7 separate regions of the Homo sapiens genome follow, and regions 1, 2, 4, 5, 6 and 7 are each linked to region 3. Evidence: promoter capture Hi-C in 16 types of primary human blood cells and fetal thymus (Javierre and others, 2016). All regions are on one chromosome and are shown on one strand. The core of a region is centred on a gene start or on the middle of the fragment in contact, and the rest is flanking DNA. Distances in the headings are between cores, read along the strand shown. Region 1 overlaps LIN54 (lin-54 DREAM MuvB core complex component). Region 2 overlaps COPS4 (COP9 signalosome subunit 4). Region 3 holds the start of HPSE (heparanase). Region 4 overlaps SEC31A (SEC31 homolog A, COPII component). Region 5 overlaps LIN54 (lin-54 DREAM MuvB core complex component). Region 6 overlaps SEC31A (SEC31 homolog A, COPII component). Region 7 overlaps COPS4 (COP9 signalosome subunit 4).

The links. Contacts are between HindIII fragments. The CHiCAGO score rates a contact against its expected background, and 5 or more counts as called.
Region 1: a contact is called between a fragment that was not itself captured here and the fragment with the promoter of HPSE in region 3, in 3 of 17 cell types (neutrophils, total CD4 T cells and naive B cells). The highest score is 6.8, in neutrophils.
Region 2: a fragment that was not itself captured here is called in contact with the fragment with the promoter of HPSE in region 3 in 4 of 17 cell types (M0 macrophages, M2 macrophages, total CD4 T cells and 1 more); the score reaches 6.9 in M0 macrophages.
Region 4: a fragment that was not itself captured here is called in contact with the fragment with the promoter of HPSE in region 3 in 2 of 17 cell types (neutrophils and total CD4 T cells); the score reaches 5.7 in neutrophils.
Region 5: a contact is called between a fragment that was not itself captured here and the fragment with the promoter of HPSE in region 3, in 1 of 17 cell types (total B cells). The highest score is 5.6, in total B cells.
Region 6: a contact is called between a fragment that was not itself captured here and the fragment with the promoter of HPSE in region 3, in 3 of 17 cell types (total CD8 T cells, neutrophils and activated CD4 T cells). The highest score is 7.6, in total CD8 T cells.
Region 7: a contact is called between a fragment that was not itself captured here and the fragment with the promoter of HPSE in region 3, in 11 of 17 cell types (M0 macrophages, total CD4 T cells, non-activated CD4 T cells and 8 more). The highest score is 7.8, in M0 macrophages.

Annotation. Positions count from the first base shown.
Region 1 is chr4:82,992,694-82,996,075 of GRCh38, forward strand. All of the region lies in intron 1 of LIN54 (lin-54 DREAM MuvB core complex component), which reads right to left. Among named protein-coding and RNA genes, the nearest start is that of LIN54, 16 kb to the right of the region's middle. The HindIII fragment of the contact is 4,223 bases long and covers 1-3,382 here.
Region 2 is chr4:83,063,732-83,067,163 of GRCh38, forward strand. COPS4 (COP9 signalosome subunit 4) reads left to right here. Exons shown (of 10, transcript NM_016129.3): 8 at 2,707-2,822. Among named protein-coding and RNA genes, the nearest start is that of COPS4, 30 kb to the left of the region's middle. The HindIII fragment of the contact is 785 bases long and covers 1,279-2,063 here.
Region 3 is chr4:83,333,213-83,336,530 of GRCh38, forward strand. HPSE (heparanase) reads right to left here and starts at 1,636. Exons shown (of 12, transcript NM_001098540.3): 1 at 1,344-1,636. The coding sequence starts at 1,570. The HindIII fragment of the contact is 2,644 bases long and covers 73-2,716 here.
Region 4 is chr4:82,849,130-82,852,597 of GRCh38, forward strand. SEC31A (SEC31 homolog A, COPII component) reads right to left here. Exons shown (of 27, transcript NM_001077207.4): 19 at 2,302-2,475. Among named protein-coding and RNA genes, the nearest start is that of SEC31A, 40 kb to the right of the region's middle. The HindIII fragment of the contact is 6,463 bases long and covers 1-3,468 here.
Region 5 is chr4:82,952,903-82,956,134 of GRCh38, forward strand. The region is part of intron 4 of LIN54 (lin-54 DREAM MuvB core complex component); the gene reads right to left. Among named protein-coding and RNA genes, the nearest start is that of THAP9-AS1, 54 kb to the left of the region's middle. The HindIII fragment of the contact is 5,227 bases long and covers 1-3,232 here.
Region 6 is chr4:82,879,144-82,882,647 of GRCh38, forward strand. SEC31A (SEC31 homolog A, COPII component) reads right to left here. Exons shown (of 27, transcript NM_001077207.4): 2 at 2,715-2,797; 3 at 1,656-1,779. The coding sequence starts at 2,793. Among named protein-coding and RNA genes, the nearest start is that of SEC31A, 10 kb to the right of the region's middle. The HindIII fragment of the contact is 2,032 bases long and covers 607-2,638 here.
Region 7 is chr4:83,038,193-83,041,292 of GRCh38, forward strand. The region is part of intron 1 of COPS4 (COP9 signalosome subunit 4); the gene reads left to right. Among named protein-coding and RNA genes, the nearest start is that of COPS4, 4.6 kb to the left of the region's middle. The HindIII fragment of the contact is 679 bases long and covers 1,372-2,050 here.

The DNA.
Region 1 (3,382 bases), core at 255-2,754, 340 kb before region 3:
AGAGGCATGCACCACGATGCCTGGCTTTTGTTTTGTAAAAATGAGGTGTCCCCGGCCAGGCGTGGTGGCTCACGCCTGTAATCCCAGCACTTTGGGAGGCCAAGGTGGGTGGATCACGAGGTCAGGAGATTGAGACCATCCTGGTTAACACGGTGAAACCCCGTCTCTACTAAAAATACAAAAAATTAGCCGGGCATGGTAGCAGGTGCCTGTAGTCCCAGCTACTCGGGAGGCTGAGGCAGGAGAATGGCGTGAACCCAGGAGGCGGAGCTTGCAGTGAGCTGAGATCACGCCACTGCACTCCAGCCTGGGTGACAAAGCGAGACTCTGTCTCAGAAAAAAAAAAAAAAAAAGAAATGAGGTTTTACCACGTTGCCTAGGCTGGTCTCAAACTCCTGAGCTCAAGTGATCTGCCCAGCTTGGCCTCTCAGCATGCACCACTGTGCCTGGCCCATTTTTTATTTAAATTAACTATTATCTTTACCTCTTTGCTTCTGTTTGATTTGTTCTTCTTTTTCTAGAATCTTTTTTTTTTTTTTTGAGATGGAGTTTCACTCTTGTTGCCCAGGCTGAAGTGCAATGGTGCAATCTTGGCTCACTGCAACCTCCGCCACCTGGGTTCAAGCGGTTCTCCTGCCTCAGCCTCCCAAGTAGCTGGGATTATAGGCATGCGCCACCACCCCTGGCTAATTTTTTGTATTTTTAGTAGAGACAGGGTTTCTCCATGTTGGTCAAGCTGGTCTCAAACTCCAGACCTCAGGTGATCCGCCTGCCTCGGCCTCCCAAAGTGCTGGGATCACAGCGGTGAGCCACCGCGCCCGGCTAGAATCTTAAGATGGAAACACAGATCAGGGTTCACCAAAATACTAAATGATGCCCATGGTCTTTATATATTGCTTCCTACCTAAAAATGGTTTTTTGTTTGTTTCTTTGTTTGTTTTTGAGACAGTGCCTCACTCTGTCACCCAGGCTGGAGTGCAGTGGTGTGATCTTGGCTCACTTCAACCTCTGCTTCCCAGGTTCAAGCAACTCTCCTGCCTCAGCCTCCCAAGTAGCTGGGATTAGAGGCGCATGCCACCATGCCGGCTACTTTTGTATTTTTAGCAGAGATGGGGTTGCACCATGTTGGTCAGGCTGGTCTTGAACTTCTGATCTCAACTGATCCACCTGCCTCAGCATCCCAAAGTGCTGGGATTACAGGCATGAGCCACTACGCCTGGCCTGATATTTACATTTTTAAATGGTTGGGGCAAGGGGGAATATGACAGACTTACATGACTTACAAAGCCTCCAATATTTGCTACCTGGAGCTTTACACAAAAAGTCTGTCAACTCCTGGTTTAAATGATTGATTGATTTTAAAACTTTCTTCTTTTTTACAGTAAGCCTTTAATATGAAAACTTTTCCCCAAAGCTCTTTAGATGTATTCCATTAATTTCAATACGTTTTTATTATCATTCACTTCAAATGTTTTCTAATATTGCTTGTGATTTTACCTGACACATGGATAATAAAGAAGTGTGCCATTTAATTCCCAAGCACTTGGAGATTTTCTAGCTATGCTATTATTATTGATTACTAATTTAATTATAGTATTGTCAGAGAACATAATACTCTTTAACATTCTCATCATTTGAAATTAGAGACTTATTTTTTGACTCAGTATACGGTCTCTCTTGGTGAATCCTCCTTGTGCATTTTAAAAGAATTTTTTTTTTTTTGAGACAGAGTCTTGCCCTGTCACCCATGCTGGAGTGCAGTGGCGCAATCTGGGCTCACTGCAACCTCCACCTCCCCGGTTCAAGCAATTCCCCTGCCTCAGCCTCCCAAGTAGCTGGGATTACAGGTGCATGGCACCACGCCCAGTTAATTTTTTTGTATTTTTAGTAGAGACAGGGTTTCACCATGTTGGCCAGACTGGTCTCGAACTCCTGACCTTAGGCAATCCGCCCTCCTTGGCCTCCCGAAGTGCTGGGATTACAGGCATGAGCCACCTTGCCCAGCCAAGAACATTTTTTTTAATAGTTGCTGAGGGTAGTATTCTATTTATGTCAGTTAGCAAAAGCTGGTTGATAGAGTTATTCAGATCTTTGATATCCTTAATAAATTTTTAGGGTGTTAAAATCCCCAAATATGGTGGTGGATTTGTTTACGTCTCCCCTTCTGCACATTTTTGCTTCATATATTTTGAAGTTCTGTTGTCAGAAGAACATACGTTTTTACCTGTCCTGTTAAAAGAGACTGAGAATTATAGGAGTGGGACTCTCCCTTTGAACTAGGAGCAAAGTCCAAACTTCTAACAAGAAAAGGTCTGGGCCAGGTTCAGTGGCTCACACCTGTAATCCCAACACTCTGGGAGGCCAAGGCAAGAGGACTGCTTAAGTCCAGGAGTTGGAGACCAGCCTGGGCACAACATGGTAAGACCTTCTTCTCTACAAAAAAATAATTTTTAAAAATTAGCCAGGCGTGGTGGGGCATGTCTAAAGTCCCAGCTACTCGGGAGGCTGAGACAGGAGGAAAGTGTAATCTCAGAAGTTTGAAGCTGCAGTGAGGTATGATAGTGCCACTGCACTCTGGCCTGGGTGACTGGGTAAGATCCTGTCTCTGGGGGGAAAAAAATTAATTTAATTTAATTTTAATTTATTTTTAATTTAAATTTAATTTTTTTTTAAAAAAGGTCTGATTGGTTTGGCCAGAGTCTATGTAATAGACAGAGACTATTCCAGAGCCAGGATAGCTCATAAACTACAGAACAGAATATAGATGACTGTCTTATGATTACACATCCTTATCTCTTTTTTTTTTTTTTTTTTTTTTTTGGGATGGAGTCTCGCTCTGTCACCCAGGCTGGAGTGTAGTGGCACAATCTCAGTTCACTGCAACCTCTGCCTCCAGGGTTCAAGCAATTCTCCTGCCTCTGCCTCCCAAGTAGCTGGGACTACAGGTGCGTGCCACCACACCCGGCTAATTTTTTGTATTTTTAGTAAAGGCAGGGTTTTACCATGTTAGCCAGGCTGGTCTACATGTCCTGACCTCGTGATCCACCCACCCGCCTCGGTCTCCCAAAGTGCTGGGATTACAGGCGTCAGCCTCTACTCCTGGCCTCCCTGTTTGTTTCAATCAGGGTCACATGCAGGGCATGGTGGCCTATGCTAAAAGAAAGTTTCAGGACCAGGCACGGTGGCTCACACCTGTAATCCCAGCACTTTGGGAGGCCAAGGTGGGTGGATCACCTGAGGTCAGGAGTTCAAGACCAGCCTGAGCAACATGGAGAAACCCCGTCTCTACTAAAAATACAAAATTAGCTGGGCGTGGTGGCTCATGCCTGTAATCCCAGCTACTCGGGAGGCTGAGGCAGGAGAATTGCTTGAACCCGGGAGG
Region 2 (3,432 bases), core at 421-2,920, 270 kb before region 3:
AGAGTTTTACTCTTGTCGCCCAGGCTGGAGTGCAATGGTGCGATCTCGGTTCACCACAACCTCTGCCTCCCGGGTTCAAGTGATTCTCCTACTTCAGCCTCCCAAGTAGCTGGGATTACATGCATGCGCCACCACGCCCGGCTAATTTTGTAATTTTAGTAGAGACGGATGTTGCTCAGGCTGATCTCGGACTCCTGACCTCAGGTGATTCGCCCCCCTCAGCCTCTCAAAGTGATGAGATTACAGGCGTGAGCCACAGTGCCTGGCAATACAATCCTTTTAACTGGGTATACTGCTGTACTACTTAAAAAATATATATTATGGCTGGGCATGGTGGCTCATGCCTGTAATCCCAGCACTTTGGGAGGCTAAGGCGGGAGGATCTCTTCAGCCTGGGAGTTTCAGACCAACCTGTGCAACATAGTGAGGCCTCATCTCTACAAAATATAAAGAAAAACAGCTAAGCATGGTGGTACATACCTGTGGTTCTAGCTACTCGGGAGGCTGAGGTAGGAGGATTGCTTGAGCCCAGGGGGTCAAGGCTACAGTGAGCCGTGATTGCCCCACTGCACTGCGGTTTCAGTGACAGTGTAAGACCTTGTTAAAAAAAAATTGTGATAAATATATAAAACATAAAAATTACCATTTTAACCATTTTTGGGTGTGCAGTTCTGTGGCATTACTTTCACATTGTTGTGCAGCCATCACCAACATCCATCTCCAGAACTTTTACATTTTCCCAAACTGAAACTCTGTACCTATTAAACAATAACTCCTTATTCTTGCCTCCCCTCTGCCTGCTGTACTACTTTTTGACATGGGATAGATTGGGAGAGGAACAGACTGAGGAGAGAAGTTTTTCTTTTTTCTTTTTTTTTTGTTAGTTACAGTCGTGCTCTGTTGTCCAGGTTAGAGTGCACTGGTGCAATCATGGCCCACTGCAGCCTGGAACAAAGTAACTGGGACTGCAGGTGCACACCACCATGCCTGGTTAATATTTTAATTTTTTGTAGAGTTGGGGTCTCACTGTGTTGCCCAGGCTAGTCTTGAACTCCTGGCCTCAAAGAATCTTCCCACCTCAGCCTTCCAGAGCACTGGGATTACAGACATGAGCCACTGTGCCTGGTTAAGCAGTCCCTTTTTTTTTTTTTTTTTTTTTTTTTTTTTTTACTTTTTGAGACAAGGTCTCACTCTTTTGCCCAGGCTGGCGCTGGCATGATGCCATAGCTCACTGCAGCCTCCACCTCTTGGGGATCCTTCTACCTCCACCTCCCCAGAAGCTTAGGCATGTGCCACCACACCCTGCTAATTTTTAAATTTTTTTGTAGAGACAGGATCTCTCCATTTTGCCCAGGCTGGTCTTGAACTCCTGGGCTCAAGCAGTTCCTCCCATCTTGGCTTCCCAAAGTGCTGGGATGATAGGGGTAAGCCACTGCACCTGCCTGCTTTTTTGAACATATTAAATTTGAGATATTTATAAAATTACTGGATTGGATATTTAATTTAGGTAGTTGGCTGTGTAAGTCTGAATTCAAAAGGGAGATTTAGATTAGAGATATGTGATCATTATCAGCATTTTGATGGTATTGAGACAATGTAGGATAAAAAGAGATGAAGGTGCAAAATTAAACCCTCTAATATTTCAGAGAAGGAAAAGAAGGAGGAAGCAGCAAGGTAGACTGGGAGATAGGAGTTAAGTGAAAAACTAGCAGATCGTGGGTGGAATTCTGGAAAAGGAGAAGTGAGGCATTGTAAGAAAAAGAGGTTCTCAGAATACTTCCCTTGAAGTCTCCAAGTATATTTTGTCCCCTGCACTCATTATAGTAGTTAAATGTTCAGCAGAAATATGTAAGCATTGGGTGAGCCCAGTGGTCTAATACATTCAAAGTAGGACCCTGGGTCCAGAACATTATGAGATACTGTATGACCTCACTTAAAAGAGGATTCTATGCCTGATCTTTCAGGAGGGTTAGCCGGATCCTGGATCTGGATCTGGATATTTCTCACATTTGCCTTGGTTTGATGCTCCTGGAGTTCCCAAAAGAATAGAGATCACTTTATCAAGCTTGCAGAACAGGTTGCATGATTGTTGTGCTGCTGCTTGCTAGTAAAAGTTTATGCTTGTAGAAAGAAAAGTTAATGGGCTGGTGCCGCGGCTCATGCCTGTAATCGCAGCACATTGGGAGGCCCAGGTGGGCGCATCACTTGAGGGTAGGTGAGAACTGCCTGGCCAACATGACGAAACCCTGTCCCTACTAAAAATACAAAAAATTAGCTCGGTGTAGTGGTGCACACCTGTAGTCCCAGCTGCTCAGGATACTTAGGCATGAGAATCACTTGAACCTGGGAGGCGGAGGTTGCAGTGAGCAGAGATTGTGCCACTGCATTCCAGTCTGGGCAACAGAATGAAACTCTGTCTCAAAAAAAAAAGTTAATTTGATAGCCTGAAGAAGCAAGATTCTAAACCCAAAGGGGTTAGATCTATATGCTTAATAATTACTTGCCAATCACTCATTTGCTAAATGTTATTTTTATTTAATTGTACATTAATGAAACTACATCATATATTGGCTACTTTTAAAATTTTGATCAGAGGAGTTAAAGAGGATGAGTTATTACGTGCCTAGACATTTTCAGAAAAAATGATGCATCTTTTTAGAGTATAAAACTAGTTTCAAACTTGTAACTGTCTTATTTATGTTTAAGGTTCCAGCATCTTGGACAGAGCTGTTATTGAACACAATTTGTTGTCTGCAAGCAAATTATATAATAATATTACCTTCGAAGAACTTGGAGCTCTTTTAGAGATCCCTGCAGCTAAGGTATCTTCTTGATTCCAATACATTTAAAAAAAAGTTAAGAGATGAAACTATTAAAATAATGAGAAAATAAAATAAATGTTGGAAACAACATTTATTATCTTCCAACAAAATAAATGTTGGAAACAACAACAGAATTACACCTAAAAAGCCACAAGTAAATACATTCTTTAGAAGTTAAAATAGGCCTAGTGTTTATTAGTGGAATTGTCTTAGTGTTTTTTGGTGTTTTAAATTGTGTTTTGTGATAAAGTGACCTAGAATAGAAGTCTTTCAGGAGTTTCAGGTTATGACACCCATTTTCTGAGAATGTCTTTGTTTGGTGTCTGTTTAAATCCAACAAAGTACCAATGACATTCAGAGAGTATTGCAGGTATCATTTACAAAATATTCTCTTAACTTTAAATAAAATTAAGCAACCTTACTTTTAGCTAATTTATAAACCTTAAAAGTCGTGCAGTTATGGGTCGCATCCCTTTTTCTCTGGCAGTGAAATTTTTTGTCTGTTTATTTATTTTATTTTTTTTTGTTTTTAGAGACAGGGTCTTGTTCTGTCACCCAGGCTGGAGTGCAGTAGCGTGATCATAGCTTACTGCTGCTTCAGACTCGTGGG
Region 3 (3,318 bases), core at 386-2,885:
CACTTACTATGGGTCAAACACTGAGAAGCTCTTACCATATCATCAAATCCTCGGGCAATAATCCTTGAGGCAAGCTTGAGAAATTCCATTCTACAGCTGAAGAAATCAAGGTTGGTGTGGCCAAGAGATATGGAAAAACCAAGTCACTCATCTTTGCCAGAGCTGAGAGTCAAGCCAGGATGGTCTGTCCATCTCTTAACCAGTACACTACCCATTAAATTAGCGCTGGCAACTATAGTGTGGGCTCAGGGAGGACAGCATCTAGGTATTTGACACAGAGGTGAGATAATGGTGATCTTTCCCTCTATCTGGGCTGGTCAAGATGTGGCCATCTCTGGAGGCTCCCAGGGCCTAAATAAGAGGCCTAGAAGACCTGGGATTGTCCCTGTAGCTCCCCATCTTGGAGTCAGCCTGCATTCATGGGGCAGGAGCCCTGAACCTGCATCAGGTTCCTTCTTTCTCAGGTAAGGAAAAAACTTAGAGCTGATAAGGCAGCACCACATTTTGCAGCCCCATTTTGGAGAGACATCTTTTTATTAGGACTTTGTAAGTCACTGCAGTAGTCTCCTAGGTCTCATTTATTGAATATTTAGATTTTTATTCCTGTTCTGTGACGCCCTTTTCATCTGCCTAAAAAAAAAAAAAGAAAAGAAAAAAGAAAAAGAAAAGAAAAGAAAGAGAAATCTTCCTAACACAGTCTTAAATACAGAAGGCTATGCACAATCTTACTTGTCCTACACTGCACAGCAAATCAAGCACTCACAGGCCTTCAGGTGCACCTGCCTGGTTTCCCTCCTCTTGGCTAGGGAAGTACTGGGGCAAGTGGGCAGTTTCTTTTTCAAATTTCCACTTATACCTGACCTTAGGTGGTGCCTATTCAACACTTACAGAATGAATGAAACAAAAAGGCTCATTTAGAGTGGGCGCTAAACAATGTGTACACATGGACTTAGTGGAATAGTAGACACTGGAGACTCCAAAAGGTGGGAGGGTGGGAGAGGGATGAGGGATGAGAAATTACCTATTAGATACAATGTACAACATTCGGGTGACAGTTACACTAAGAGCCCAGATGCCACCACAATGCAATATACCCATGGAACAGAACTGCACTTGTAACCCCTAAATCTATTTTTTAAATGATACCCCCCAAAAAGCAGTTTGGGGTCTGAGAGTAAGGGAGGGAGAGGGAGAATGAGAGGCGGGAAGTGGGGTGGGGAGAGACAGGCGGGGAGGTTCCGGTGTGAAGTTGTTTCCGCGCAAAAGAAGGAGAGCGGCTGGCGGGGCAGACATAGGTGTCAGGAGGACAGGAAAGGGGACAGGACCAGGAGGCTGGCGCTTACCCCAGGAGGATGAGGAACCGCGGGTCCGTGGCCAGGTTGGCGTCAATGGTGACGGACAGGAACGAGGGGCTCACCAGGTGCAGCGGCTCCTGGGTGAAGAAGTCCAGGTCCACGACGTCCTGTGCTTGCGCAGGTCGGGGCAGGGCGCCAGGGGAGAGGGGACCCAGCGGCCCCAGGAGCAGCAGCATCAGCGGCGGCGGCAGCGCAGGCTTCGAGCGCAGCAGCATCTTGGGCTCACCTGGCTGCTCCCCCCGCCAGCTGCCGCGCAGCGGAGAGTCGAGAGCTCTAGCACTTCCTCCCGCCGAGCCCCAGCGCCCTTTTCTCCTTTCCTCCGCCCCGTTACGCCTCCTCACCCCTCCCACTGCGCCCTCCATCCCTCCCACTCCTCTTCTGCATCCCTCCCACTGCTCCCAATCCAACCCCGCCCCGCCTGCCCGGCTCTCTCCTACTTCCTTGCTCGCTTTCCCCTCGGTGGCGGTCACGTTCACTTACGAAATCACCCACACCCACTTGAAGGGTGCGGAGATGGCCGGGATCCAAGCGCCCGGGAGGCCTGGGGAGGAGCGCCCGGGGAGGAGCGCCCGGGGAGCAGCGCTGGGCATCCCGGACCAGGCTTCCTGACGCACGTGTTCTGCGCGCTCTCGTGGGAACCCAGCGTTTCCGACTCCCAGATCCCATTCTGATGGCGCCGGGTATCCCTCTGACCCTCGAGTAAAACCTCCAATGGAGTATTCATCCCTTCCTCTCCCATCTAGCTTATAAACACTTGCTTGTCACTTGAGCCAGCCAAAATCTGATTGTCCTCTGGCCAGGCAGTTTCTCAGGTATTTTACTTTTGCTTGAAAAAATCTGGCCTCAGCATACGCTAAACTGCAGCTGGAAAGAGATCAACCACCCAAAATTCTTTATCAACTTCTCATTAAGACAATATTTAGCAATCTTAAAGGGTTAGTTGCTCCAATGTCTGGAACTCAGGACCTGAAGCCCCCATACAAAGTGTAGAGTACGGACTGCCCCTGAATTTGGAGCCTTTGCCAAATTTCTCCTCTGCGCATTTATCTTTCGCTGTTGGTCAGACTTTTCTTCAGCTTTTCCTTGATGCTTACACTGATGTATAATCATAGCAAGCATCGCACGCTTAGTGCCTACTGTATGCCTGATACAGGTGCTTTACTTGTGTTCTCTTCCCTTCTCACAACCCTGCCAAGTGCATACTGTCCTTGTTTTACACATGCGGACCCAAGCTCTGAGACAGTAACTGGGTGAAGTGTCAGAATCGGGATGTGAAGTGTCAGAATCGGGATGTGAATGCAGTTACAAAACCTCGAGCAGATGGCAGTGTGTTTCAGCTGAAATGTAACTTCCCTCAAGGAAGCTTTCTCTCAATCTCCAGGCAGCTCTCCATGACACACTCTCATAGCATCCTCAATTTGTTAGACACTCTCGTAGCATCCTCAATTTGTTAGACACTCTCGTAGCATCCTCAATTTGTTAGTATTGTGATGTTGCTCAACATTGGCTTCATCTACTAGATTATATGCTCCACCAAAACAGAGATTAAGTTTGTCTCACACGCTATGCTAGCCATAGCTCAGGCATGTGATCATGTTGGTGCTTAGTAAGAGTCTAATAAATATTGGTTGAGTAAGCAAATAACACCAAAACCCTTAGATTTTTCCACTTGAGATTGTACCACCAATAAGGCAACAAATAAAAATAGATTATTTTGAAATGCATATCTAATTTGCATAAATCAGGCCAGGCATGGTATGTGATGCCAGTGATGCCATCATGCCTGTGATGCCAGCATTTTGGGAGGCCAAGGTGGGAGGATTGCTTGAGCCGAGGAATTCAAGAACAGCCTGGGCAACATGATGAAACCCCATCTCTACAAAAAATACAAAAAATTAGCCAGGCGTGGTGGCCCGTGCCTGTGGTTCCAGCTACTGGGGAGGCTGAGGTGGGAGGTTTATTT
Region 4 (3,468 bases), core at 200-2,699, 480 kb before region 3:
TTGTGCTTTCTACTACTCAAGACTGGCACCAAAGGTCCATGACATACAGTGCAACTTGTAATTTAACTGAGGCAGAGATCTGAGTTATACCTACCTCATGGTTACTATGCAAGACCAATATCACTTATTACTACTCTTTTGATGTTTTCTTGTGGTTACCTAATGCTCATAAATTACAAAACTACTTTAAAAACTATAACTAAGGCCAGGCGCAGAGGTTCACGCCTGCAATCCCAGCACTTTGGGAGGCCGAGGCAGGCAGATCATGAGGTCAGGAGATCGAGACCATCCTGGCTAACACGGTGAAACCCCATCTCTACTCAAAATACAAAAAATTAGCTGGGTGTGGTGGCGGGCACCTGTAGTCCCAGTTACTCGGGAGGCTGAGGCAGAAGAATGGCGTGAACCAGGGAGGCGGCACTTGCAGTGAGCTGAGAACATACCACTGCACTCCAGCCTGGGCGACAGAGCAAGAATCCGTCTCAAAAAAAAAAAAAAAAAACTATAACTAAAAGAGGCCACCAAAGAGAATCAACTACTAAAGGTGGTTATTGAAGAAAATGGTGATTTAAGAAAGAGATGAAAATGTTAAAAGAGATTTTTGAAATAAAGATTAAGATGTGAAATTCAGATCTGTAGCTCATACAGATCTACATGCATAGAGACTTACAAAAGTATGAGGTGACCCTATATATGCTCTAAGTATTAACAAATAACAAAAAGGCAATGTGTTAAAATGTTTCAGCAAGATTTTAGTATCTTTAAAAATTATACATTCCTATATATTTGTTAAAGGTTTAAAGGGATCATTTAAATGTTTTAGGCATATTTTATTTGCCTTTTGGGGGGGAGAATTATATATTACAATGCTATCACAAAGTCTCAGGACGTATTCCCCCCACCAAAAAAGGCAGGGTCTACTGAGATAAATAGGAAACAACATCAAAATTATGCTTTTTGGCCTAAAGAATGTTCTTTAAAGTCCAAAAAAAAAAAAGCATGAAGAATAATGTATAGAAAATGGATGTGCTTATAAATGGTACTGAAAATGAATTAAGCTAGATGAGCTACGGGTCTTAAAGCAAATTAGTCTTAAGATAAAGGTTCTTATAATATACCTCAATATAACTATTTACTTATAACTTTTTACTTATTAGGTAAAAAGTCTTAACAAAACTAGTATGCCAAAGTCACCATAAAGGAAAAGATTATGTATCAGCTATTCTATCTAACATTCCCATCAACAATTCAGAAACAAATGAGATGGATCTTACAGCTAAGTGTATACAAAACCAACTAGAGAGTCCTACCTCCATAGTCCTGGAGAATATTATGTACTTTTACTCAATGAAATTTATCAATAATTCTCTAAAACAGACAAAATACTAGAAACAATTGACTAAAAAAATACATAAAATACAGAATAAAGTGATTAATAAAAAAGTACAGAGACAAGACTGTATCTGCAAGGCTCAAAATCAAGCTCCATCAGACACAAAATGCAGATATATTGTTGTGGAAAAGTTTCCTCAAACCTCACCCGTACTTTTACCCATGCTCCATAACTGGGTTTGGGTTTCCCTTTGTTGGGTTCCACAGCACCAATACCCTTATCACAGTACTTATATCACACTTCTGGAATCTCATGTTTACTTGTCCATAGCCAAATTGAGTTTGGAGGCTTCCTAGAGGAAGGATCTTGGCAATCTTATTCACCATTCTATACCCACTTGTTGAATTGAATTGAAACAAGTATAGTTTTGCCCAAGTTTTATTGTGCAATAAGTAAGGACAATCTAATTAGTTCCCTCTGCTCTGAATACATAAAAATATACTTGCCCACAGACAGTATCAAACTAAAATGGCATACAGAATGAACTTCAATACTATCTGGGATGGAACATATGGGATTTTAAAAATGTTAACAACTCCATTTGTTTGATTAAACATTAACATTTATAGCTTTTTGACATAAAATATTCCTACAAAGAACTTTGTATGAAGAATCAGCATTTGGCTTTAGAAATAAAAAGTTGGTCTTTTCCCTGTTCATTTTCCTAAAATACTATGTCGGTACAAAGGAATCTATCGCACTGCAAGATTATCCTATCTCTCTAACACAGCTTAGATACACCTAAAATGATCCCTGAAGAATTGTCAATAACATTTACCTGCAGTCAGGTTACAGAAATTCAACTGCTCCAAAACATTCTACCTACTAATATGTTTACATCTAATGCTAAGTGTTATCTACTGGACTCACCTTACTCAAACATTACAAAAATGGTCAATTCTAATTACCTGGTTGGTGTTGTCAGGAAGAAAAGCCAAGGCTGCAGCAATACTGCCCTGAGCTGCCAACAAATTGGCATACTGACTCATCTTCGCAGCCAAGAGAACTCCTACAGTACTAGTGTCCATGGCTTGAGTGAGTTGCACAGCTTTTCGCAGGATGACAACTTTCTCAATCAGATCCTAAATGAAAAAAATGAGTAACAAACAGAAATATCAAGACCATGTATGAGAGGAAGCAGGAAAAGATCAAGAGTTACTAAGATTTCTAAAACCCACTAAAAATATAGTACCTGTTATCATCCCTCCTAGAAAAGTACAGCCACTATTTAGGTAAGTGAAAAAGTAGTAAGGAGGAAGAAGGCCTCTTACTTATGGATAGGGTAGGATAGGAAGGTTACCACCTTTTCCTAAATATCCTTAAGCTACCAGATACTTGTCTAGTGAGCTAAAACAGGCAAATACTCAAAGTGAAAATGATAGGCAGATGTCTAAAGGTAGAAACTGTGTTCTAGCCTGTATGGGAGGAACTATGAGTGAAAATATCTGATATGGTTTGGTTGTGTCCCCACCCAAATCTCATCTTGAATTCTAGCTCCCATAATCCCCATGTGTCATGGGAGAAACCCAGTGGGAGGTAATTGAATCATGGGTCAGGTTTTTCCAGTGCTGTTCTCTTGACAGTGATCTGATGGTTTTATAAAGGGCAGTTCCCCTGCACATGCTCTCTTGCCTGCCACCATGTAAGACGTGCCTTTGCTCCTCCTTCACCTTGAGCCATGACTGTGAGGCCTCCCCAGTCATGTGGAACTGTGAGTTCATTAAACCTCTTTTTCTTTATAAACTACCCAGTCTTGGGTATTTCTTCATTGCAGTATGAAAATGGACTAATACAACATCACACCATCTATCCTATAAAAATAGTACTACTATGAGGTGACCCATAGACAGAGGCATGTGATTTCCAAAGGAGTTTACTATTTTAACTCAAAGCTCTCATGTGCCATTCAATACCAAATCTTTCCACAATGGGGAGCTATGCTTCTGGTAGAAAGCAGAAGGATAGCCTACCTTTCTGCCTTTCCTAAGTGCATAAATCCAAAAGGGTAAAACAAGTGTTTTTCTCTGAGAAGCTCTTAAAAGGAAAACCTTGATTTCCTACCCATTTTTTTTGTT
Region 5 (3,232 bases), core at 506-3,005, 380 kb before region 3:
ATTATAGTCAAAATTATGGAGACATTAGTAGAATAGTGACTTCCAGGGACTAAGGAGAGAAAAGATGAAGGGTTATTTTTAATTTCTTTAGAGACAAGATGTCGCTTTGTGGCCCAGCCTGGACAGCAGTGGTGCAATAGCTTAGGCACTCGCGAGGCAGCGATTGCTGCCTCAACTTTCTGGGCTCAAGGGATCCTCCCATCTCAGCCTCCTGTAGGTGGGCCTACAGGCATGCATCACTACGCCCAGCTAATTTTTTAATTTTTATAGAGATGGGGGTCTCACCATGTTGCCCAGGCTGATCTTGAACTCGTGGGCTCAAGCAACCCTCCCACCTCAGCTTCCCAAAGTGCTGGGGATTACAGGCTTGTGCCAGCATGCAAGACTGGAACGGGGAGTGACTGTTTAAAGGATATAGAAATTCAGTTTCACAAGAAGAAAACAGTTCTGGAGATGGATGGTTGTGATACTTACAGAACAATATGAATGTACTTAATATCACTGAACTGTATAATTTAAAAAGATGGTACATCCTATATTACGTATATTTTGCCACAATTTTAAAAAATTGAAAAAATAGCTGGGTACAGTGACTCACACCTGTAATCACAGCTACTTGGGAGGCTGAGATGGGAGGATCATTTAAGGCCAGGTGTTTAAGACCAGCCTGGGCAACATAGCAAGACTCTGTCTTTAAAAAAATAAAAATAAAGAAAAATAGATATCCACTTTGCAAGCTAAGTTATGAAAATCAGTCAGTATCGCCCTGGCATGCAATGGCTCACATCTGTAATCCCAGCAATGTGAGAGGCCGAGGTGAGCAGATCACTTGAGCCAGGCAGTTCAAGACCAGCATGGGCAACATGGCAAAACCCCATCTCTACAAAAACTGAAAAAATTATGCAGGCATGGTGGCATGTGCCTACAGTCCTAGCCCTGAGGTGGGAGGATTGTCTCAGCCTGGGAGGTGAAGGCTGCAGTGAGCCACGATCGCACCACTGCACTCCAGCCTGGGTGACAGAGCAAGACCCCGTCTCAAAAACAAAAAAAATCAGGATCAAAATGATATAGAATCAAATACCAATTTAACCATTTCATAAAGTTAAAAAAAACTATCTGTTCCTGTACTTAATTTGTACTAAAGGAATGTTACATGTAAAAAAATAACATAAAATTAAATGATTTTCAAAATAGATAAATATTGGAGTAAGGAAGACTTATCCAAGTGTGACTCAAAAACTAAAAATTCACACATGAAGAGACTAAATTTTGACTTATTTAATGTGAAATTTCTGCAAGGAAAAACATTATATAGAACAAACCACAGAGAAAAATATTTGTAACCACATTAATAATAAAGAAATAAGTTCCTTAATGTACCACAGACATTTTTAAGACCACAAGGGAAAAAAGACAATGCAATAGGCATGGAGTTCACAGAAAATAAGTCCAGAAGACAGATATGAATAATTTTTAAAAATACAAATTTATATGAGATTATTTATTTATTTATTTATTTATTTATTTATTTTTAAGACGGAGTCTCACTGGGTCTTCCAGGCTGGAGTTCAGTGGTGTGATCTTGGCTCACTGCAACCTCTGCCTCCCCAGTTCAGGTGACTCTCCCACTTCAGCCTGCCAAGTAGTAGGAAGTACAGGTGCGTACCACCATGCCCGGCTAATTTTTGTATTTTTAACAGAGACGGGGTTTCACCATGTTGGCCAGGCTGGTATATGACATTTTTTAATCAGTTAAATTGGCAAAGACTGAAAATGACTAATTAACAGGAGAACATAAAAACAGACCACACCCAACACAATCAACTGACCTCTAACAAAGCACCAGAAGCAATTTAATGAAGAATGGATAGTCTTTTTCAACAAATGGTGCTGGTATAACAGAAGGTCCACATGCAAAAAAAGGAATCTAGACACAGACCTTACACCTTTCACATAGGGCTCACAGACCTAAACATAAAGTGCAAAACTATACAACTCCTAGAAGATAACATTTGGTAACCTTGAGTTTAGCTCTATCTTTTTAGATACACTACCAAAAGGACAATCCATGAAAGAAAAAACTGGTAAGTTAAACTTCATTAAAGTTAAAAACTGCTCTGCAAAAACCACTGTTAATATGATTCAAGAACATGATTTTTTAAAAATACACTGTTAAAAGAATGAACAGGCCGGGTACGGTGGCTCACGCCTGTAATCCTAGCACTTAGAGAGGCCGAAGGAGGCGGATCACTTGAGGTCAGGACCAGCCTGGCCAACATGTTGAAACCTCGTCTCTACTAAAAATACAAAAATTAACTGGGCTTGGTGGCATCCACTTGTAATCCCAGCAGCTCAGGAAGCTGACGCAAGAGAATCACTTGAACCTGGGAGGTGGAGGTTGCAATGAGTCGAGATTGCGCCACTGCACTCCAGCCTGGGCAACAGAGCGAGACTCCATCTCAAAAAAATAACATAACATAACATAACATAACATAACATAACATAACATAACATAACATAATGAACAGACAAGCCATAGATTGAGAGAAAATATCTGCAAAACACATGGTAAAAGGCAACAAGAAAAAGGAGATCATAAAACTAAGAGAAATATCAATCATTTCCAAACTTATAAAGACAGACATATAGAACTGGATCTCAATTCAAACGTAGTGAAAAAAATATGATGACTGGGGAAATGTGAACACTAACTAGGTATTTAATAACATTAAAGGAGCTAGGCATGGTGGCTCATGCCTGTAATCTCTGCACTTTGGGAGGCCAAGGTGGGAGGATCGCTTGAACTCAGGAGTTCAAGACCAGCCTAGGCAACACAGCAAGACCCCTATCTCATTACAAAAAAAAAAAATTAAAAGACTGTGCGTAAGTTTTTTTCCCAAAAGTGTCCCTATCTTTTCTATACATAAAGACACATCTACAGATGAAATGACATGATTAACCTAAAAAATGAGAAGCAGGGTGACAAAAAATAGGCAAGTTGATAATTCCAAAGTTGGATGAAAGGTACATGGGGGTTAATTGCTATTTCAACCTTTTAATATATTTGAAATTTTTTTGAGATGGAGTCTTGCTCTGTCACCCAGGCTGAAGTGCAGTGGCACAATCTCAGCTCACTGCAACCTCCACCTCCTGGGTTCAAGTGATTCTCCTGCCTTGCCTCCCAAGTAGCACCTGCTACCACGCGCGGCTAAATTTTTTAGTATTTTTAGTA
Region 6 (3,504 bases), core at 373-2,872, 450 kb before region 3:
GTAAAAACTCTTGTAAGGTAGTGTAACAAAATATACTTGAGTTGTGTGTCAAAAAATATGAGCTTAAGAATGATTTTACCATTTAGAAACTGTGAGACCCTAAGTTACTTAATCTTCTTAAATTGCCTCTGGTTCATTGTAAAATAGAGCTAATCAATCACTTCCCTCGAAAGGTAAAAACACTCTTTATTTGACTATAGAAGGGTCTCATGCTTTGACCTTTGTCTGAAAAAAAAAAAAAGGGGGGGTCACTAACAAGTGGTCTGTTAAATAGTAAAGGTGTTAAAGGAGTCATGTGAAATTTTCTAAGAAAAAGAATGTATTCTAATGGTAGAAAAATGACATCAAGATTATAACAAGTACCCCTACTATTAGAGAATAAAATATATGGTCCAGAATGGAGATGAAATATGAAGGCAGAAAGGTATACGATGATACAGATGGTAGTAAGCAGAAAAACTACTAGACAAAAGGTATCTGGGGTTCCCATCCCACTGTGACAGCTCTGAAGAATATGAGCGGTCCCATGAAACTGCATGATTTGAGCTATATTCTGTCAGCTAAAGAGCAATCTCTTTAAACCCTGCTAATATATTGAGGCAATAAAGCTTATTTTATTACTGAAATGAAGACCTCCTTTCTCTGCATTACAATAGGGCATAAGTACTTGAAAGTATGATCCAAATACCTAGTTACCTAGTGTATTAGAAATCGTGTCAACAAAACTGTGAGATATATTTCTAAATATCGTAACAGAAGAAAATAAAAATAAGCTACCATTCAGAGATAATCACTATTAATACTTACGATGACTACTCCTTTTCTAGTCACATCTACCTTTTTGTAAACAGGCACAATAAAGGAGATAGAAAAAAGAACTCTATACAAAATTAGCCAGGCATGGTGGCACATGCCTGTAATCCCAGCTACTCGGGAGGCTGAGGCAGGAGAATTGCTAGAACCTAGGAGGCAGAGGTTGTGGTGAGCCGAGATTGCGCCATTGCACTCCAGCCTGGGCAACAAGAGTGAAACTCCATCTCAAAAAAAAAACAAAAACAAAAAAAACCACACACACACCAAAAAAACAGAAAAAAATGCTAGAAACTACAGCCTCTCCTTCCTACCTTACATGTAACAGCAATAAAAAAGCCAACAGAACATACTGGCCAAGCGTGATTCCTCATGCCTATAATCTCAGCACTTTGGGAGGCTAAGGTGGGTGGATTGCTTGAGGTCAAGAGTTCAAAACCAGCCTGGCCAACATGGCAAAACCCTGTCGCTACTAAAGACACAAAATTAGCTGGGCAAGGTGGTGTGCACCTGTAATCCCAGCTACTCGGGAGGCTGAGGCACAAGAATTGCTTGAGCCTGGAAGGTGGAGGTTGCAGTGAGCCGAGATCGTGCCACTGCACTCCAGCCTGAGCTATGAAGTAAGATTCTGTCTCAAAAAAAAAAAAGAAAAAAAAAAGTCAATAGAACACATAAACACTACTTTTACTTCCATAAAAATTCACTCACATGCTTTTTCACAAAATATTTCATGTTCTTGATGGTATTCCTTGTAGTTTCTAATAATGGCATAATTATAGACAAATTAGGAATCAAGAACAATATATAATTAAATAATCACATGAATTTAAAGCTGAACCTCATACCTGTGAGAAGAGGAGAATGTGGCACAAGATTTCATATCCAAGGATGGATCAGAGAGGTCTAATTCAAATATCTCAAGGGAAGCATTCGTACTAAATGTTGCATCCAATTGCTGAGCAGATGTTCCTATAGAAAATATATTTATGGTAACTATACACACAAAAATAAAAGATCAGAGAAACCATACAAAACAGAAGTTAAAAGCATGTTTTCCATTCTCTTGCTCATGAATGCTGCACATATGCCATTGAGCAGATGCTTAAATTACTATAGCAATGAGATTCTGGCACAGGGCTAGGAGAGGATGTTTATAAGAGTGGGTAGTGTAAATAATTTTTTAAGCCTGTATATATTTAAAAATCTCTGTAAAAATGGTCCCGTGATGGGGGCTGGGCACGGTGGCTCATGCCTGTAATCCCAGCACTTTGGGAGGCCGAGATGGGTGGATCATGAGGTCAGGAGATCAAGACCATCCTGGCTAACATGGTGAAATCCCATCTCTACTAAAAATACAAAAAATTAGCCAGGCATGGTGGTGGACGCCTGTAGTCCCAGCTACTTGGGAGGCTGAGGCAGGAGAATGGAAGGAACCAGGGAGGTGGAGCTTGCAGTGAGCAGAGATCACGCCACTGCATTCCAGGCTGGGCGAAAGAGCAAGACTCCATCTCAAAAAAAAAAAAGTCCCGTGATTTACTATATCTGCTTATAGACATATATGATATAACTATTTCTTTTTATATAAAAATGCTAACATCAAAATTGCTCTTCATTCATTCAAACTGATATTAACTGTTTTTTTTACATGCCATCTATTGTGCTTAATACTGGAGGAATAAAGATAAAATACAATTCCTGTGAAGGAAAATATTTTAGATGTAACACATCATGATCAAAATGCTATGGGAACACAGAGGAAGAACACTAAACTTGGCTGATAGAATGTCAGTAACTTGCCAGGGAGAGAGAGGCTTTCTAGAGAAGATAAAGCTTAAACTGAATAAGCTAGGTGCAGAAGAGAAGAAATTAGGTAACTCATACTATCTTCTCTCCTTTGAACTTACCTGTTGCTAGGTAAATGGGGTGATTCTGGGCAGGGCTCCATGCCTGCATGGCTGTACGATCTACTTCCTTTAACTTCATCCTGCTAAAGGGAATATTTTATACAGAAACAGCCTTGAATGACTTGAATGTCTAACACAGAACACAGATATTTTAAATAGAAACATACTGAACAAACCACTACAACATTAGTAATGCCCAACTGCAAATAAATCAAATCGGTTTAGGTGTCATTTGTTGGATATATTCATTAGAAAGAAGACAAACTTGAGGCCGGGTGGCTCATGCCTGTAATCCCAGCACTTTGGGAGGCCAAGGCGGGCGGATCACGAGGTCAGGAGATTGAGACCATCCTGGCTAACATGGTGAGACCCCATCTCTACTAAAAATACAAAAAATTAGCCGGGCGTGGTGGCGGGCACCTGTAGTCCCAGCTACTCAGGAGGCTGAGGCAGGAGAATGGCATGACCCGGAAGACAGAGCTTGCAGTGAGTTGAGATTGCACCACTGCATGCCAACCTGGGCGAGAGAGCAAGACTCTATCTCAAAAAAAAAAAAAAAAAAAAAAAAAAAAAAAGACAAACTTGATAAACCATTTTGAGACAAATACTGGGCTATTCTGTTTACAGATTATAGTTCTTCAGTTGAATCAGTCTAGAAAAATAGCCCACAAAAATAATAAGGTAGTACCTGAAGAATTAACTTTGCTACACATGTGTTTATCCAACTAGGATGGATGACAAAACATTACGGGTAAGAGCAGCCAAAAAATAAATAAGGTGCAACTTCCTG
Region 7 (3,100 bases), core at 461-2,960, 290 kb before region 3:
CAGTTTTAGTGGTTTTCATCTCTAGAGTGAAAGTCAATAACATCTAGAGTTTACTGTGCGAAGCACAACATTACTTACATTTAAAAATCCTTAACAAGTAGGAGTAGGTGATAGTAGTGATATTATTTACATTATAATAAGAGAAAACCAAAGTACAGAGTTGAAATACCTTGCTCTGAGGTCACACAGCTAGTGGTGAAGCTAGAAGACAGTCCATATCTGCTTGCCTATGAGCCCTTAACTCTAAACAAACACATCTACCTTTTTGGCCTTATTTTCACAAAAAAAAATTGACTACACTTCAGATAGTGATTATTTTTGCCTAGAATGCCTGTCTTCCTACTGTTATTAAATTGAAATACTTAGAATGTTTAAAGATCAACCCCATCCAATGATTTCTCTCTCCTAAAAATTATATTAGCACTTACCTGTTTTTTTTGTTTGTTTGTTTGTTTTGTTTTGTTTTGAGATGGAGTTTCACTCTTGTTGCCTAGGCTGGAGTGCAGTGGCGCGATCTCGGCTCACTGCAACCTCTGCCTCCCGGGTTCAACCGATTCTTCTGCCTCAGCCTCCCAAGTAGCTGGGACTACAGGTGCATGCCACCACACCCGACTACTTTTTTTTGTATTTTTAGTAGAGACAGGGTTTCACCATGTTGGCCAGGATGGTCTCGATCTTTTGACCTTGTGATCCACCTGCCTTGGCCTCCCAAAGTGCTGGGATTACAGGCGTGAGCCACCGCGCCTGGCCAGCACTTACCTGTTTTTAAGATTTTGTCTTTAATTTTGTGTAGCTTCATTATGATATGTCTGTGGATTTGTTTTTACTTTTCTATGTCAGTTACCCTTTGCTGTGAAATAAACCCCAAAACTTAGGGCTTAAAACAACAGTCACTTATTTAGCTTATAATTCTGTAGGTTGGTAGTTTGGATTGGGCCCAGCTGTATGGTTCTTTTCTGCTCCACGTGGTCTTGGTTCCACATGGGCTCCCATGTGGGTCTATAGTTAGCTGCCAGCCAGGCCAGGTAGGCAGCTCTGCTTCTGTGGATTGGCTGGCTTGTTGGCTGGGGCAATATAGTTGACTGGGCTACATATCTCATTAGCCAGTATGTTAGTCTGAGCCTGTTCATGTGACAGCAGCAGGGTTCCAAAAGACAAACACATACAAGGCCTCTCGAGGTCTGGGCTCAGAACTAGCACTTCATTTCTACCACGTTTTATTGGTTAACCCCAGATTCAAGGGGTAGGGAAATAAACTCTACCTTTTGATATGAAGAGCTACAAAGTTGTATTGTAAAGGGACATGGGTACTGGGAGTGAAATTATATTGTGGCCGTTTTTTGTAAGCACTCTGTCACATTATCCTGGTTAAGCTTCACTGGGTTTCCTGAATCAATGGATTAAATCATTTCATCAGTCTTGAGATGTCTTCAGTTATATCTCTTTATTTTATTTTAGAGACAGGGTCTTGCTCTGTTGCCCTGGCTTGAGTGCAGTAGAGAGATCATGGCTTACTACAGCCTTAACATGCTTGGCTCAAGCAATCTTCTCGCCTTAGCCTCCTGAGTAGCTGGGACTATAGGCACGTGACACCATGCCTGGCTAATTTAAAAACATTTTTTTTGGTACAGATGGGGTCTCCCTATGTTGCCCAGGCAGGTCTCGAACTCCTGGGCTCAAGGGATTCTCCTGCCTCGGCCTACAAAAGTGTTGGGATTACAGGTGTGGGCTACTGTGCTTGGCCTGTATCTCTTTAAATGTTGCCTCTGCCCCATTCTGTTTCTCCTCTAGGCTCCGGTGAAATCCCTGTCAGGCCCACTGACTATAACCTCTAGGCCTCTTACTCTGTCTTTTCCATTTCAATGCTTTATTCTGGATTAGTTCTTCAGGCCTACCTTCTAGTTTATCACTTCTTCAACTGTGTTTAATCTGCCGTTAAGTACTCCATTGAGTTTCTAAGTTGGGTTGTATTTTTTAGCTCTGTAATTTCTGGTGGTTCTTTTTTCCAATGATACTTTTTATGGCTCCTGGTCTGTTGCTGAAACTTTAAAGCTTGTCTTTATCCCCATGAACATTGTAAGCATAATTGTATCATGCTCTTTCTGATAACTCCAGTCAGTATTTGACGTTTTGGTTGTTGCGATTGTCTGTTGCTTTTGTTGATTCTAGAGAGAAATTTCATTACCTGAGGGTGCTAACAGTGTATAATCAAGGCTTCAGAATTTTTTTGGTTTACCTGGGTGGTCTTGGGATAGAATTTGTAACCTTACTTCCAAAGTGTGTGTCTCCTCCTTTGGCAGAATATGGAACTTCCATTCCCATTTGTGCAGCTCTATTAGTCTGCCAGAAATGGCAGCTTGCTTCTCAGTGCTTCCAGCAGATTCGCAGTGAGCCCACCTTCTCCTCCCTACAAGAAGTGCCACTCTACCTCTCAGCCATCTTTCCACAGTCAGCAAATGCCTTTAGACAGAATATATGGTTTATCTTATTTTCCTCATTTTACCTTTCTTGTTAGGATTTTATGCAATTACATTTTTTTTTTCATTTCTTTCAGCTTTTTATGTTGGCTTTTTTTTTTTTTTTTTTGAGGGAGGGTTGGTCCAGTCGTTTAGTTCACCATTACTGTAAGTGGAAGATCTGTTAATACCTACCTTTACCACCCATTGTGATCTTAAATGATGACTGTGGTACATTTTCATGCTTTATTTATCTCCAGATTCCTTTCAAGTGCCAAGAAATTAAGAATCAACATACTGAATTTGGTTCATATACATTAAAGATGCTCAATTCACTGATGATAAATGGATAGGAGAGATGTATGATGCCTTAGTAATAAAACTTATTTTCCTCCATAAGTTTTTTTTTTTTGTTTTTTGTTTTTTTTTTTTGAGATGGAATCTCACTCTGTCGCCCAGGCTGGAGTGCAGTGGCATGATCTTGGCTTACTGCAATCTCCACCTCCCGGGTTCAAGCGATTCTTCTGGCTCAGCCTCCTGAGTAGCTGGGACTACAGGCACACGCCACCACGCCCGGCTAATTTTTGTGTTTTTAGTAGAGACAGAGTTTCACCATGTTGGGCAGGCTGGTCTTGAACTCCTGA